Linked DNA regions of Homo sapiens: regions 1, 2 and 4 are each linked to region 3. Evidence: promoter capture Hi-C in human tissues and cell types (Jung and others, 2019). All regions are on one chromosome and are shown on one strand. The core of a region is centred on a gene start or on the middle of the fragment in contact, and the rest is flanking DNA. Distances in the headings are between cores, read along the strand shown. Region 1 has its middle 23 kb from the start of OR2S2. Region 2 holds the start of CCDC107 (coiled-coil domain containing 107). Region 3 holds the start of NPR2 (natriuretic peptide receptor 2). Region 4 overlaps LOC124902148 (a long non-coding RNA gene).

Region 1 (3,018 bases), core at 186-2,685, 140 kb after region 3:
ACATTTCACAATAAGTCTGTAGTGTAATTAACTCTCAAGTCAGTGTCTAAATTCCTGTAGAGTTTTTTCATTTGATTGTATTTTTTTTTTAATTGTAACTAGCCATTTAAGCTTCCAAAGATCCGAGTGGTAGAGAGGGGTAGTTCGAAACCAAGATAAATGGAATTTGTACAAATCGGACTGCAGTTAAATTTCATGTTCTTGGAACAATCTTTTCAACAGTCTTTTCCTTGCCTGTCTGTTCCAGCCTGTCTGCTCACCTGTAAAAGCAACAAGAGTAGGTAGGAAAACAATTACTCCTTTGCAGTTGAGACACTCCAAAGATTAAGCCTGTTAATTATTTGTACTCTCTGTTCTGGATTTGGCTTCTTCTTACCCTCCTCCAGGAAAATTGAGTAATGCCTAGTTTTGAGATGGGTAAGAGGATTGTCTCTTGAATGTACGTGGAACTATTAACAGCAACTTGAAAATGAAAAGAATTATGACTGAAAAAGAAAGAAAAAAAATGAGTAAGAGATACTGGAGGACATTGTAAGATGGATCTAAGGATAAGGATAAAATAACAAGATTAGCCAGGGAATTTCTAGGACAACAGTTGGAAAATCATACCCTGGGTAAAGGATGTGAAAGAAGAGATTTGGGGCAGGAATTTTACCAACAATCTAAGATAAAACTTTCCTATCTTGTAATCATTATTGTTTTATGTTAAATTAGAGTTGCCAGATAAAACACAGGATGCTTAGTAAAATCTGAATTTCAGATAAACAATGAATACTTTTTAAACTATAGCTATGACACAAAGTATATAGACATGCTTATACTAAAAAAAGTATTGTTTGGCCGGGAGCGGTGGCTCACTCTTGTAATCCTAGCACTTTGGGAGGCCGAGGTGGGTGGATTACAAGGTCAGGAATTTGAGATCAGCCTGGCCAATATGGTGAAACCCCGTCTCTACTAAAATTACAAAAATTAGCTGGGCATGGTGGTGGGCGCCTGTAGTCCCAGGTACTCGGGAGGCTGAGGCAGGAGAATCACTTGAACCTGGGAAGCAGAGGTTGCAGTGAGCCAAGATCGTGCCACCGCACTCCAGCCTGGGTGACAGAGCGAGATTCCGCCTCAAAAAAAAAAGTATTGTTTATCTGAAATTGAAATTAAATTTGAGCAACCTGTATTCTTATTTGCTGAATCTGGCAAGTTCATATTAAATGCATGGTAGCCAGGCACGGTGACTTATGCCTGTAATCCCAGCACTTTGGGAGGCCGAGGCAGGCAGATCACCTGAAGTCAGGAGTTCAAGACCAGCCTGACCAACATGGTGAAACCTCATCTCTACAAAAATACAAAAAATTAGCCAGGCGTGATGGCGAGTGCCTGTAATCCCAGCCACCTGGGAGGCTGAGGCAGGAGAATCACTTGAACCTGCGTGGCAGAGGTTGCAGTGAGCTGAGATCGCGCCATTGCACTCCAGCTTGAGAGACAGAGTGAGACTCTATCTGAAAACAAACAAACAAACAAACAAATAAATACATAAATAAATAATAAAAAATTTAAAAAAATATTAAATGCATGGTGATTCAACTTGTAAAACCGAGGACTATTTGGCCTTTAGGCTCTTAGTTTTCTTTCTTGGGATATGATTGAGTTTTCCTTATTCAGTCTACTTTTCTTATATATCTATCTAACATTATAGCATTATATTTTAAAAATTGGCCCAGTTTACATTAGCACCAAGTATAAGTGTATAGTCATGCACTGCACAATGATATTTTGGTCAGTATGTATGTTTTGGTCAATGATGTGTGGTCTGCATATATGACAATGGTCCATAGTTTATGATTCCATATTTTTACTGTACCTTTTCTATGTTTAGATACACAAATACTTACCATTGTGTTACAATTGCCTACAGTGTCCAGTACAGTAACACACTGGACAGGTTTCTAGCTTAGCAGCCATAGGCCATGCCATATAGCTTAGGTATATATTAGGCTAGGTTCGTGCAAGTCCAGTCTGTGATGTTCCCACAATGATGAAATCGTCTAATGACGCATTTCTCAGAATGCATCTCAGTCTAAACAACGCATGACTCTACTTATTTTCTTCTACACTTAGCAATATTAGGTCTGATTAGTCTTTTCATTTTTGCTAACCTGCAGGGCAAAATGTTTGAGAGCTATTAGTTTAGAGCACTTCTTAAATGAGGCAAACTTTTCTCTTGTGATTCCTATAATCAAGGTTTTATTCAAAAATAATTTTAAATTTTATTCTATATTATAGGAATGTGTACAATGAAATGTAATGATGTATAATACATTGGCTGTTTTTGAATTCCAACCATGGATTTCCCAGCTACTGGCAGTGAAACTGATCTTTTCTGTACGTACTCAAGTCAACACTCAAGAATTTCAACTTACCTTTAGCGAAAGCAAATATTTATATTTAAAAAGAAAACATTTGAATTCAGAATTCATTAAGATAAAAAAGTTAGCAAACTACAGATGCCTTGTTAGTTGACAGTCCTAATGGCGACGTCTAGGTCAGATAACTTATATTGACTTAAAACAGCATTGTCTTGACTTTCCACAGTCGTATTTGTGATTATGGAAATAATTTTAAAAAGACTAGTCTCTTTAATTTACATTTTCACAAAACGCTGTTGAAAGAGCAAATGTCTGCTCAGTTGTTTTTCCTTTGCTTAAAAAAAAAAAAAGTGCCAGGAATCCCACCCCACCCTGCTGCTGGGTAACAGTCAATCATTTATTATTCCTGGATCAAACACAAGCATTCATGCCTATGAAAACGTTTGGCAATGAATGGGATCTTGGTCTCTACTAAAAACAAAAAATGGCTAAAAGGAGACTTCAATTTATGTTCAAATTCTATGGCTGAATTCCTATAATTCCTAACTGGTGAAAATATTGGCAAGCTACAAGATTTTACTTAGAGTCAGATTTACTTCTTTGGTGTATGCCCAGAGGTGTTATTGAAAGCTATTTGTGGCCAGCTTTCCAGGAGACC
Region 2 (3,224 bases), core at 409-2,908, 130 kb before region 3:
ATTGTGAACTGTGCATGGGAGGGATCTAGGTTGCACGCTCCTCGTGAGAATCTAATGCTTGACGATCTGAAGTGGAACAGTTTCATCCGGAAACCATCCCTCCACCCCGCTTCGTCCATGGAAAAATTGTCTTCCACGAAACCGGTCCCTGATGCCAAAAAGGTTGGGGACTGCTTGTCTAGTGGTATTGAAGAAAGTGAAATAGCGGCACTAAAGAATAAATTAGAAGTTGAATTAAGGGTTCCGAATGATGGGAACACACTTGAGCTGAGAACTGAAGGTCGTGTAGAACCCAGTATGCAGAAAGGGAATGCAGCGGCATGTCAGGGAGAGTCAGTGTAATTTCAACTGTCTGGCTTACAGTAGTAGCTGCTCAAGTTAAAAAATCACTAGAGTCCGTCGGGGTGGCACGTGCCTGTAATGTCAACTACCCGGGAGGCTGAAGCGGGAGGATCCCAGGAGTTTAAGACCAGCCTGGGCAAGAGAGCGACCCGCCGTTCCAAAAAAAAAAAAATCACTAATAAGTAGGCACGGTTCTAACTTGAGTGATCCCATTTAATCATCATAGCTCTTGAAGTAAGTGCTTATCTTCATTCCTCAGAGTGGAAAGGAAGGCACGGAGAGAGAACTAAGTTTCACAAGGTCACCGCTCTTGAGTACAGGAGGCAGGATTCTAGCCCAAGCAGAGTCCATATGTTGTGTACCAGCTACACAGTGAATGGTGGCTACTATGGCGTTTGCCAAAGGGAGAGGGAGGTAGAAGAGGAGGCTGTTTCAGGAATGCTCCATATTTGGAGTAATGAGCACAAGGACTTCATAGCAAGGCCAAGAACAGCGTAAAGCTGCCCGCGCATGAAAAGCAGCCGCGTTGACCGGGCGCGGTGTCACGCCTGTAATCCCAGCACTTTGGGAGGGCGAGGTGGACTGATCGCTTGACACCAGGCGTTCGAGACCAGCCTGGGCAACAGGTGAAAATCCGTCTCTACAAAAAATACAAAAATTAGCCAGGCATGATGGCGTGCGCCTGCGGTCCCAACTACTTGGGAGCCTGAGGTGAGGCATCGCGTGAGCCCGGGGAGGTCGAGGCTGCAGTGAGCCGTGGTCTCGGGAACAAAAAACAGCCGCGCTGAGAATGAGCCCCGTGTGGTTGGTGCGCGGACACGCACTGCCTGCGTAACTAGAGGGAGCTGACGGATGACGCCCCCGCGCCACGCCGCTCAGCGGGATACGCTTCTTGGCGGACTTTGGAGTGGGAAGCGGGGAATGTCTACGTGCGTATGCACGTGGCACTCTCTGCCCGAGGTCCGGGGACTTTCCCCTAGGCGGAAAGGGGAGGAACAGAGTCCTCAGTGTGTAGCCTAGGATACAGGCCTTCAGCACGAACCACGTCCTCAGCTTCACAGAGTAGTATTTTATAGCCCTAAAGAAATTGTGTTTTATGATTAGGGTGAGAAAGTTGGTGGCGTGAGATTAAAAAAACCGTTTTCGGGCATAACTTTCTAAGACTATAGGCTTTCAGAGGCATTGTGGCTAGCAGAATAGCTAATAGACACGAAATGAACAAATACAGGAAAGCTAGAATGACACTATCTTATGCAAATATGGTCTGGCCCCGCCCTACGGGGAGTGGGCGTGGCCTCCCCGGAGCCGGCCGGCCTGCTCGCGTGCGCGTGCGCGTTGGGGCGGCCGGCCAATGCCGGACCGCTTCGGCACCGCCCGCCCGATCCCTCCACCCGTGGGCCGGCAATGGCGGGCGCAGTTTCGCTCTTGGGTGTGGTGGGGCTGCTGCTTGTGTCTGCGCTGTCCGGGGTCCTAGGAGACCGCGCCAATCCCGACCTCCGGGCACACCCAGGTACCAGCTAGGGCTGCTGGAGGAGGGCTGGGACTGCGCACGGGTCCCAGGCCCCAGCTCGGCTGACTCGCCTGTATCCTCCCTCCGCAGGGAACGCAGCCCACCCCGGCTCTGGAGCCACGGAACCCCGGCGGCGACCACCGCTCAAGGATCAACGCGAGCGGACCCGGGCCGGGTCGCTGCCTCTGGGGGCGCTGTACACCGCGGCCGTCGCGGCTTTTGTGCTGTACAAGTGTTTGCAGGTACGGGGCGGCCGGGGGTAGGGGTGCCCCTGCAGGTGCGGGACCGCCGGGCGTGGGGATCCCCTGAGCCCGAATCTCCCATGGGGGTGCCAGGGTACCAAGAACAAGACACAGCTTCCCTGTCTGTAAAATAAAGACAGTAGTCCGTTGGCCTTCCAATATTATGAGGTTATTTTGAGGATCCAGGGAGGTAACGGATGTGAAGAGCGTGTGGTGAACTGTAAATAATGACTATCACATTTAGTTCTCCTACAATCCAGTGAGGAGTAGTCACTTGCTCGAGGTCACCCAGCGCTGGCAACTGCTGGAGCTGGGATTTGAACCCAGCTAGCAGTGTCCATGCTACAAGAGTGGGGCCAGCCTTGGCACAGGAGGTTGATTGCTGCAGCCAGTGTTTCTAGAGTTCCAGATATGAAGTGGTCTCATGTTCTCCTTGGGAGGAGGCCCTGAAATGTAAGTTGACAGTACATTTTGAAAAACAGTACCTTCCAGGGCTGTGTCTTTAGCCGTGACCCTATTACGTACTTGCATTATAAAATAGAACCGATGGAACCAGTTTAGATATATGAAACTAGAAGAGATAGCTAATAATGACCCCAGGTAGATGTGACAGGCTAGGATGAATGACTGAATTTAATGATGAACTTTGAGAAGGATAGACTAGTAAATTCTGTTCTTGGACCTGAGTACAGTCTGGGAGAAACATAATGTAGCAGGAGGTCTTATGAAAGAGAGTTAGGCATTCCAGTTGACTGAGTTCACTGTGGGATGTGACAAGCCACTTCCCAAATCAGTGCTGGGAACATGGCACTGTGCTTCACCTGCCAATCAGAATGCCCCTGGAGAATTGTATTCTCCTCAGGGCATTGCTTTAAGAGCACTACGTGTTCAGGAAACAACCAGAGAAAACCACCGTCAATGAGCACTGACTGTAAAGACTGACGTTAATAAACCAGAAAAAACTCAGGAAAGTGGGTGAGGGTGTGACCATTGCCTTCAAATTCCTGAGGGGCTGTCACCTTGAGGAGACATTATTTTGGAAGGCTCCAGTAAGCACTATGGAAAGAAGATACATAAAGGACAAATTTTGGCTTTGTGCATGAACTGTCTAACAACCAAAGTTTTTGTTT
Region 3 (3,222 bases), core at 723-3,222:
TAATGTTCAGAATAATGACATATGATGCACTTGTACTTGCGTAGGAGTCTGGGTGACAGTGGTGGCTGATCCTCACTGAGGGCTGCAGGTGTTCCAGAGAGACTTGCCTGGGTTTGGTGGCTATTATATTGTAAGCACAGCTTTCTACAGTAAGTTCCATGAGTCAGCAAAATATCTATAAAGAGCCTCTCCTTGGAGACCATGAAACCTGCATTTTAATCTCTCTTTTGCAACTAAAAAGCCATGTGGGATTGGGGGAGAGGAGCAAGTAAGGACACTGCGACCTTCCTCTCTGGGATTTGGTTTTCAATTATCTTTAAATGAGAGGGCTAAACAATATATTTATATGATCCTCTTAGCCCTGCCATTCTGTAATTCTTTCAGGAATTTTGTCATTTTGGATTTGCTTGTCTCATAAAACAATGTGTAGTTGCTTAAAAATCAACTATTCTATTTGGTTGACTTGGTCTAAAGTATTTCTCATGTTGTCTCGTCATTCTTTTGACTGTTCCTTTTTTTTTTTTTTGCCTTGGCCAGATAGGACAAAATTCCTTTTCACTGCAGTATTGGGAGCCTGGAACTAGAGTTACCAACCCCTCTGCGTTAAAGAAGGAGCTGTCCTGAGGCTTCCATCTCTACTGGGCTTGAGGCAAGAACATTGTTAGGGACGGCCTGCTCTTGGCCTCTGTGCCCCAGGGATTGCAAATGCATGTTCCTCAAAGGTAAGGGCTGTATCATTCGGCTTTCTTTGTATTCACAGGTACAGCTTGTGCTAGGCAGCCGGTGTTCAATAAATATCGTGCCTAAGGATAAAGTGGCATTGTCCTTAATTTCCCCCACCAAACCACTAGGTGTCGCCTTCATCTCAGGGAAACCATGCCCGTCCTCGCCCTATACACTCCCACCCCACTCCAGGGCTCCAGGAGCGCTCTTAGCTTGTGATTTCTGGAGAAATAGCTTGAAGGGGGGAGAGAAACCGTGGCTCTTAGCGCGGGCAGAGAATGGGCTTATGTGCATGTCCTTTATGACAGTTGGAGAAAAATCCCCAAGGTCCCATAGCAGTCCCTCTCAGCCACCATGAGATCATCCCTCACAAGCTGTTCTTGGGGTCAGATTGGCACTCCAGATATGAGGGCCCTAGGGAGAGCTTCCTAAGGGAAGCTGGGAGCAAGGTGGAACCCCAGGAGAGCGTGGATGGGCTTCCACTGCGGGGAGTGTCCCGCCGGTCCGTTACAGGCTTTCCCCAGGCGCCAGCCTGCGCTGTGCAGGAGACAAAAGAAAATCGAGGCCCTGACTGAGCAGATGGTGCGGAGGAAGCCGGGCGGGCTGCGGTGGGCCTCTGAGGACACGAGGAGGGCAGGGGGCATGGAGACAGCGGGGGGCCGAGAGTTGAGTCCCAAGCAAGAAGGAGCCTCGTGGACTTTCTAAGGACTGGTGGGAAGTGTACAGCAGGGGCCCCTGGCTGCTGGAGGGGCCCGTCCAGGGAGCGGGCATGGTCCGCGGTGGAGTAAGCCGCACTGCCGTCGGGAGGGCGCTATGGTTTGCTAGGTGAGGGGGCTGGTGAGGATACCACACGTCTGGGGATCCTCGACTGCTTCCTGGAGACTGGAACCACTGAGGGACTCAGGGAGTTCAGAGGGGAGACCCAAGAAGAACGGGCTGAGCGAGGGGGAGAGGACAAACCCTGGGGTCGCTGGCGTGTGTGAGATGGAAATGGAAGGAGGGGCGGCAGGGGGACCAGGGGCGTGGGGGAGACCAGGGTAGGCCCTGAGAGTGAGGGAGCGCCCGGGAACCCTGCTGGCCGGCGAGGCCTTGGTGCGGAGCCCCCAAGTGCTCACCGGGGTGGGTTTGGGACCTGGCGGTCCCGAGCGCCCGGGTGGGGGGTGGGGGAAGGCAGCCGGCGCCGGAGGGTGGGGCCGGGAGGGAGGAGGAGAGGCAGCGGGGGAGGGGCGGGGGCGGGCGGCCTGCCCGGGGGAGTCGCACTCGGCCGCCGGCGCAGCGAGCGGAGACGGGCCGGGCCGAGGCGACCTGACCCGGACGAGCGGCGCGCGCGGGGCCCAGGCGGGGGGCGGGAGGAAGCGCCGGGCAGCGCCGGCCGCCAGGGCCCAGGAGAAGCGGAGCAGAGAGGAGCGGGGACACGGGCGGGGCCGCCGTAGCTCCGGATGGGACCAGCGCCCGGGCCCGTTAGTCCAAGCAGGAGCTCCGGGAGAATCCTTCACAGGGAGATTTACCCCTGCCTTCCCCTGCCCTCCGGCCCAGGCCTCGCTTCGCTCCCCGCCTGCCCATGATCCCAGTCCTTCCGCGGCGCGGGCACCCTCCCACCTTACCCCCTTGGTCCTATGTGGCGCAGCGCCCTCCTGCCCTCCCGGCCCTTTCAGCTGTGAGGTTCCCCCAGGCCGTTTCTTTGTACCACCCGCCCCCCACCCCCACCCCATCCCAGTCCCAGATCCCCTTTTCCTTCTCAGCTTTAGATTTATCAGGCTTCTTCACCTCGCACTGTCCCCATCCTGGCCGCAGGCCCCCTCGGTCCCTCCCTCCCCCTGCCACCCCGTTCTCAGTCCTCAGTCCTTGCCCTAGGCTGGTAGCCCACTCCTTGCCCGCCCCCCGCCTTCCTCCCATCTCCCCCTCCTCTCCCCGGCCCCCAGCACCTTCTGCATCCCAGCCTACCTAGCCTACTCCTCCTCTTCCTGGCCCTCTTCCCCAGGCTCCAGGCTGGGGGGTGCTCGCGTCTCCCCTGTAGGCCAGAGCAGCCCCAAGTTCTGGGGGCGGTGGGGCTGCTGCTTTATCCCCATGGCGCTGCCATCACTTCTGCTGTTGGTGGCAGCCCTGGCAGGTGGGGTGCGTCCTCCCGGGGCGCGGAACCTGACGCTGGCGGTGGTGCTGCCAGAACACAACCTGAGCTATGCCTGGGCCTGGCCACGGGTGGGACCCGCTGTGGCACTAGCTGTGGAGGCTCTGGGCCGGGCACTGCCCGTGGACCTGCGGTTTGTCAGCTCCGAACTGGAAGGCGCCTGCTCTGAGTACCTGGCACCGCTGAGCGCTGTGGACCTCAAGCTGTACCATGACCCCGACCTGCTGTTAGGTCCCGGTTGCGTGTACCCTGCTGCCTCTGTGGCCCGCTTTGCCTCCCACTGGCGCCTTCCCCTGCTGACTGCGGGTGCTGTGGCCTCTGGTTTTTCGGCTAAGAATGACCATTATCGTACCCTGGTTCGCACTGGCCCC
Region 4 (3,167 bases), core at 182-2,681, 170 kb before region 3:
CAGGGAACTTTTAAGAGGTGAGGGGTCAGTGCTGTACATTTCAGCTTTTCCAGAACCATACTATCATCATCTGAGAGCCTGGAGGGCAGACACTAACACCCATGTTTTGCCCTCTCCTGGCCTCCCCACTACTCATTACAGGGAATGGGTGTTTACGGTTGACAAGAGGAGGGGGCCCAACCATGAGGGCATCAGATAGAATTTGCCATGTGGAAGGGGGCTCACCTGATCAACTTTGTGTCATTGATACAGTCTATGTCAGGACATCGGGAGCATCTCCTAAGACTCTGAAAGTCAGGCTATATCTGTCTTCATTACTTTAACCCACTGGCCTCCGGGAAGCCCTAGTTTACTGACAGGGTGTGGTAGCCAGAATAATGGCCTCCCAAAAATGTTCACACCCGAATCCCCAGAACCTGTGACTATGTCACTTTACCTGACAAAATGTAGATGTGGCTATGTTAATCAAGGTCCTTTAGATAGAGAGATTATCCTGTTTTATCTTGGTAGGCACACTCTGATCACATGAGTCCTTGAAAGGGAGAACCTTTCCCATCATGGGAAGAAAGAGATTCGGTGAGGGAAGGAGGGCCAGAGAGACGCCACAGGAGAAACACTCAACCCATAGGTCCTGATTTTGAAGGTGCAGGAAGAGGACCTTGAGCCAAGGAATGCAAGAAGCCTCTGAGAGCTGGAAAAGGCAAGGAAGCAGATTTTCCCCTTCAGCATCCAGAAAGGAACCAGCCCTGCAGACACCTTGACTTTAGCCCAGTGAGACCTGTGTCGACCTGATCTCCACAACTGTAAGACAATAAATTTGTATTGTTTAAGCCACCAAGTGTGTAATTTATTAGAGCAGCAAGAGTTTCGTGAACTGTGGAGGAAGCATGATGTAATAGAAAGAATAGGGAGACTCTGGTTAAAGAGACCAGCCTTGCCACAGTATGTGACTTTGGGCAAGTGACAGTTTTCCATCTGTAAAATACAAGATAGTCTGACCTCAATCAAGAGTATGATTGCTGGAGACACACTAGGTGTGGACTTTACAAACGCCTCTTTAAAATCTGTCACAAAGGCTTCAGAGTCAGGAGGGAGAAAAATGGGCCACCTGATTGCACCATGAGGGAGACTTGGATTTCTTTGATCACTGAAGCCAAAGAGTACAGATAGGTCTTCGGTGACTTGCCCCAGGCCTCTCCTTGGTCCTGCCTCAAATGGTGACACAGAAAGCACGTTCTCTGTGCTTAATGGCACAGAGCTGAAAAGCAAATACATCAAAAGGCCAACTCAAGATTCAAGCCTTGCAACAAGGCAAAATGATGGCTCCAAACCACAGAATGAAATGTCATAAAAATAATAACAGCAGGCCAGGCACGATGGCTCACGCCTGTTATCCCTTGGGAAGCCAAGGTGCACAGATCACAAGGTCAGAATTTCGAGACCAGCCTGGCCAATATGGTGAAACCCCGTCTCTACTAATAATACAAAAATTAGCCGGGCATGGCGGCGCACACCTGTAGTCCCAGCTACCCAGGAGGCTGAAGCAAAAGAATCGCTTAAACCCGGGAGGCAGAGGTTGCAGTGAGCCAAGGTGGTGCCACTGCACTCCAGCCTGGGTGACAGAGCGAGACTCTGTCTCAAAAAAAATAATAATAATAATAATAATAATAACAGCAAAGTCAGGCACAATGGCTCATGCCTATAATCCCAAGACTTTGGGAAGCTGAGGTGGGAGGATCACTTGGGCCTAGGAATTCGAGACCAGACTGGCCAACACAGCGAGACTCCATCTCTACAAAAAATTTAAAAATTAGGCAGGTGTGATGGCACATGCTTATGGTCTCAGCTTCTTGGGAGGCTGAGTGGGGAGGATTGTTTGAGCCCAGGAGGGCGAGGCTGCTGTCAGCCATGTTTGTGCCACTGCACTCTGGCCTGGGCAGCAGTGAAACCCTCCCTCAAAAAATAAATGAATCAAAATTAAAATAAAAAAAAGATAATACAGCAAGCATTTATTGAAAAATGAAATTTGGAATTCAAAAAATAAATTGCATAAGCATAGGATGGAGGGAGTCCTGGGTTAACAATTGTTTATGTAACAAAGTTTGAGGAGAAAGGCAGTTATTATTTTACACTTGAAGGGATCTTAGAGAGCCCAGCCTGCTTATTTTACAAATTGGGAAACTGGACTCAGCAGGCTGTAAGCGCCTTATAAACTGACCCAGTGACTGGAAAGAAGCTTGTGACAAAAGGCTGCCACATAGAACTGTAGCCCCCTTACCAAATACATCTAACATTGTGCCAGCCACACCTATAGCCCTTTTTTTTTGTTTTGTTTTTTACTTTGTGTTTTTTATCCCATACTTAAATACTACCTATAGCCCTTTTTAAGCAGGCAAACCCCTGCTGATGAGGCAGCCCTAGTCCCCAGAAATTGTGTCTTGTGACCTCCAACCCCTTTGACCTCAGCTGATTAAAATTAGCAAGCGAGGCCTGGCGCAGTGGCTCACACCTATAATCCCAGCTCTTTGGGAGGCCGAGGCAGGCGGATCACCTGAGGTCAGGAGTTCAAGACCAGCCTGGCCAACATGGCGAAACCCCGTCTCTACTAAAAATACAAAATTAGCTGGGCATAGTGGTACATGCGTAATCCCAGCTACTCAGGAGGCTGAGGCAAGAGAATAGCTTGAACCCAGGAGGCGGAGCTTGCAGTGAGCCGAGATTCCACCACTGCACTCCAGCCTGGGTGACAGAGCAAGACTCCGTCTCAGAAAAAAATGGGTTAAAAAGACAAATTTATAAAGGCCAGGCCCAGTGGCTCACGCCTGTAATCCCAGCACTTTGGGAGGCTGAAGTCGGTGGATCACGACCAGCCTGACCAACACGATGAAACCCCATCTCTACTAAAAATACAAAAATTAGCTGGGCGTGGTGGCACATGCCTGTAATCCCAGCTACTCGGGAGGCTGAGGCAGGAGAATCACTTGAACCTGGGAGGCGGAGGTTGCAGTGAGCCAAGATCACACCACTGCACTCCAGCCTGGGCGACAAAGGGAGACTCTGTCTCAAAAATAATAATAATAATAATAATAATAATAATAATAATAATAATAATAATAAATTTAATTTAATAAAAATATAAAATGAGCAAGTGGGCCTCTGCCTAAGGC

Evidence for each region. Contacts are between HindIII fragments. The study calls those that stand out against the background at their distance.
Region 1: a fragment that was not itself captured here is called in contact with the fragment with the promoter of NPR2 in region 3 in 5 of the 25 tissues and cell types used here (IMR-90 fibroblasts, aorta, mesenchymal stem cells and 2 more).
Region 2: a contact is called between the fragment with the promoter of CCDC107 here and the fragment with the promoter of NPR2 in region 3, in 1 of the 25 tissues and cell types used here (thymus).
Region 4: a contact is called between a fragment that was not itself captured here and the fragment with the promoter of NPR2 in region 3, in 1 of the 25 tissues and cell types used here (liver).

The regions. Positions count from the first base shown.
Region 1 is chr9:35,933,430-35,936,447 of GRCh38, forward strand. No RefSeq gene overlaps it. Among named protein-coding and RNA genes, the nearest start is that of OR2S2, 23 kb to the right of the region's middle. The HindIII fragment of the contact is 7,970 bases long and covers 1-3,018 here.
Region 2 is chr9:35,656,634-35,659,857 of GRCh38, forward strand. It overlaps CCDC107 (coiled-coil domain containing 107), which reads left to right and starts at 1,659. Exons shown (of 5, transcript NM_174923.3): 1 at 1,659-1,852; 2 at 1,943-2,094. The coding sequence starts at 1,747. ARHGEF39 (Rho guanine nucleotide exchange factor 39) reads right to left here. Exons shown (of 9, transcript NM_032818.3): 9 at 2,710-3,224. It also overlaps RMRP. RefSeq lists enhancers at 423-931, 932-1,439 and a silencer at 1,522-1,781. The HindIII fragment of the contact is 10,595 bases long and covers 1-3,224 here.
Region 3 is chr9:35,789,619-35,792,840 of GRCh38, forward strand. It overlaps NPR2 (natriuretic peptide receptor 2), which reads left to right and starts at 1,973. Exons shown (of 22, transcript NM_003995.4): 1 at 1,973-3,222. The coding sequence starts at 2,791. It also overlaps a transcript of RGP1 not described here. The HindIII fragment of the contact is 19,498 bases long and covers 1-3,222 here.
Region 4 is chr9:35,621,148-35,624,314 of GRCh38, forward strand. It overlaps LOC124902148 (a long non-coding RNA gene), which reads left to right. Exons shown (of 2, transcript XR_007061470.1): 2 at 511-834. It also overlaps a transcript of CD72 not described here. Among named protein-coding and RNA genes, the nearest start is that of CD72, 4.3 kb to the left of the region's middle. The HindIII fragment of the contact is 6,866 bases long and covers 1-3,167 here.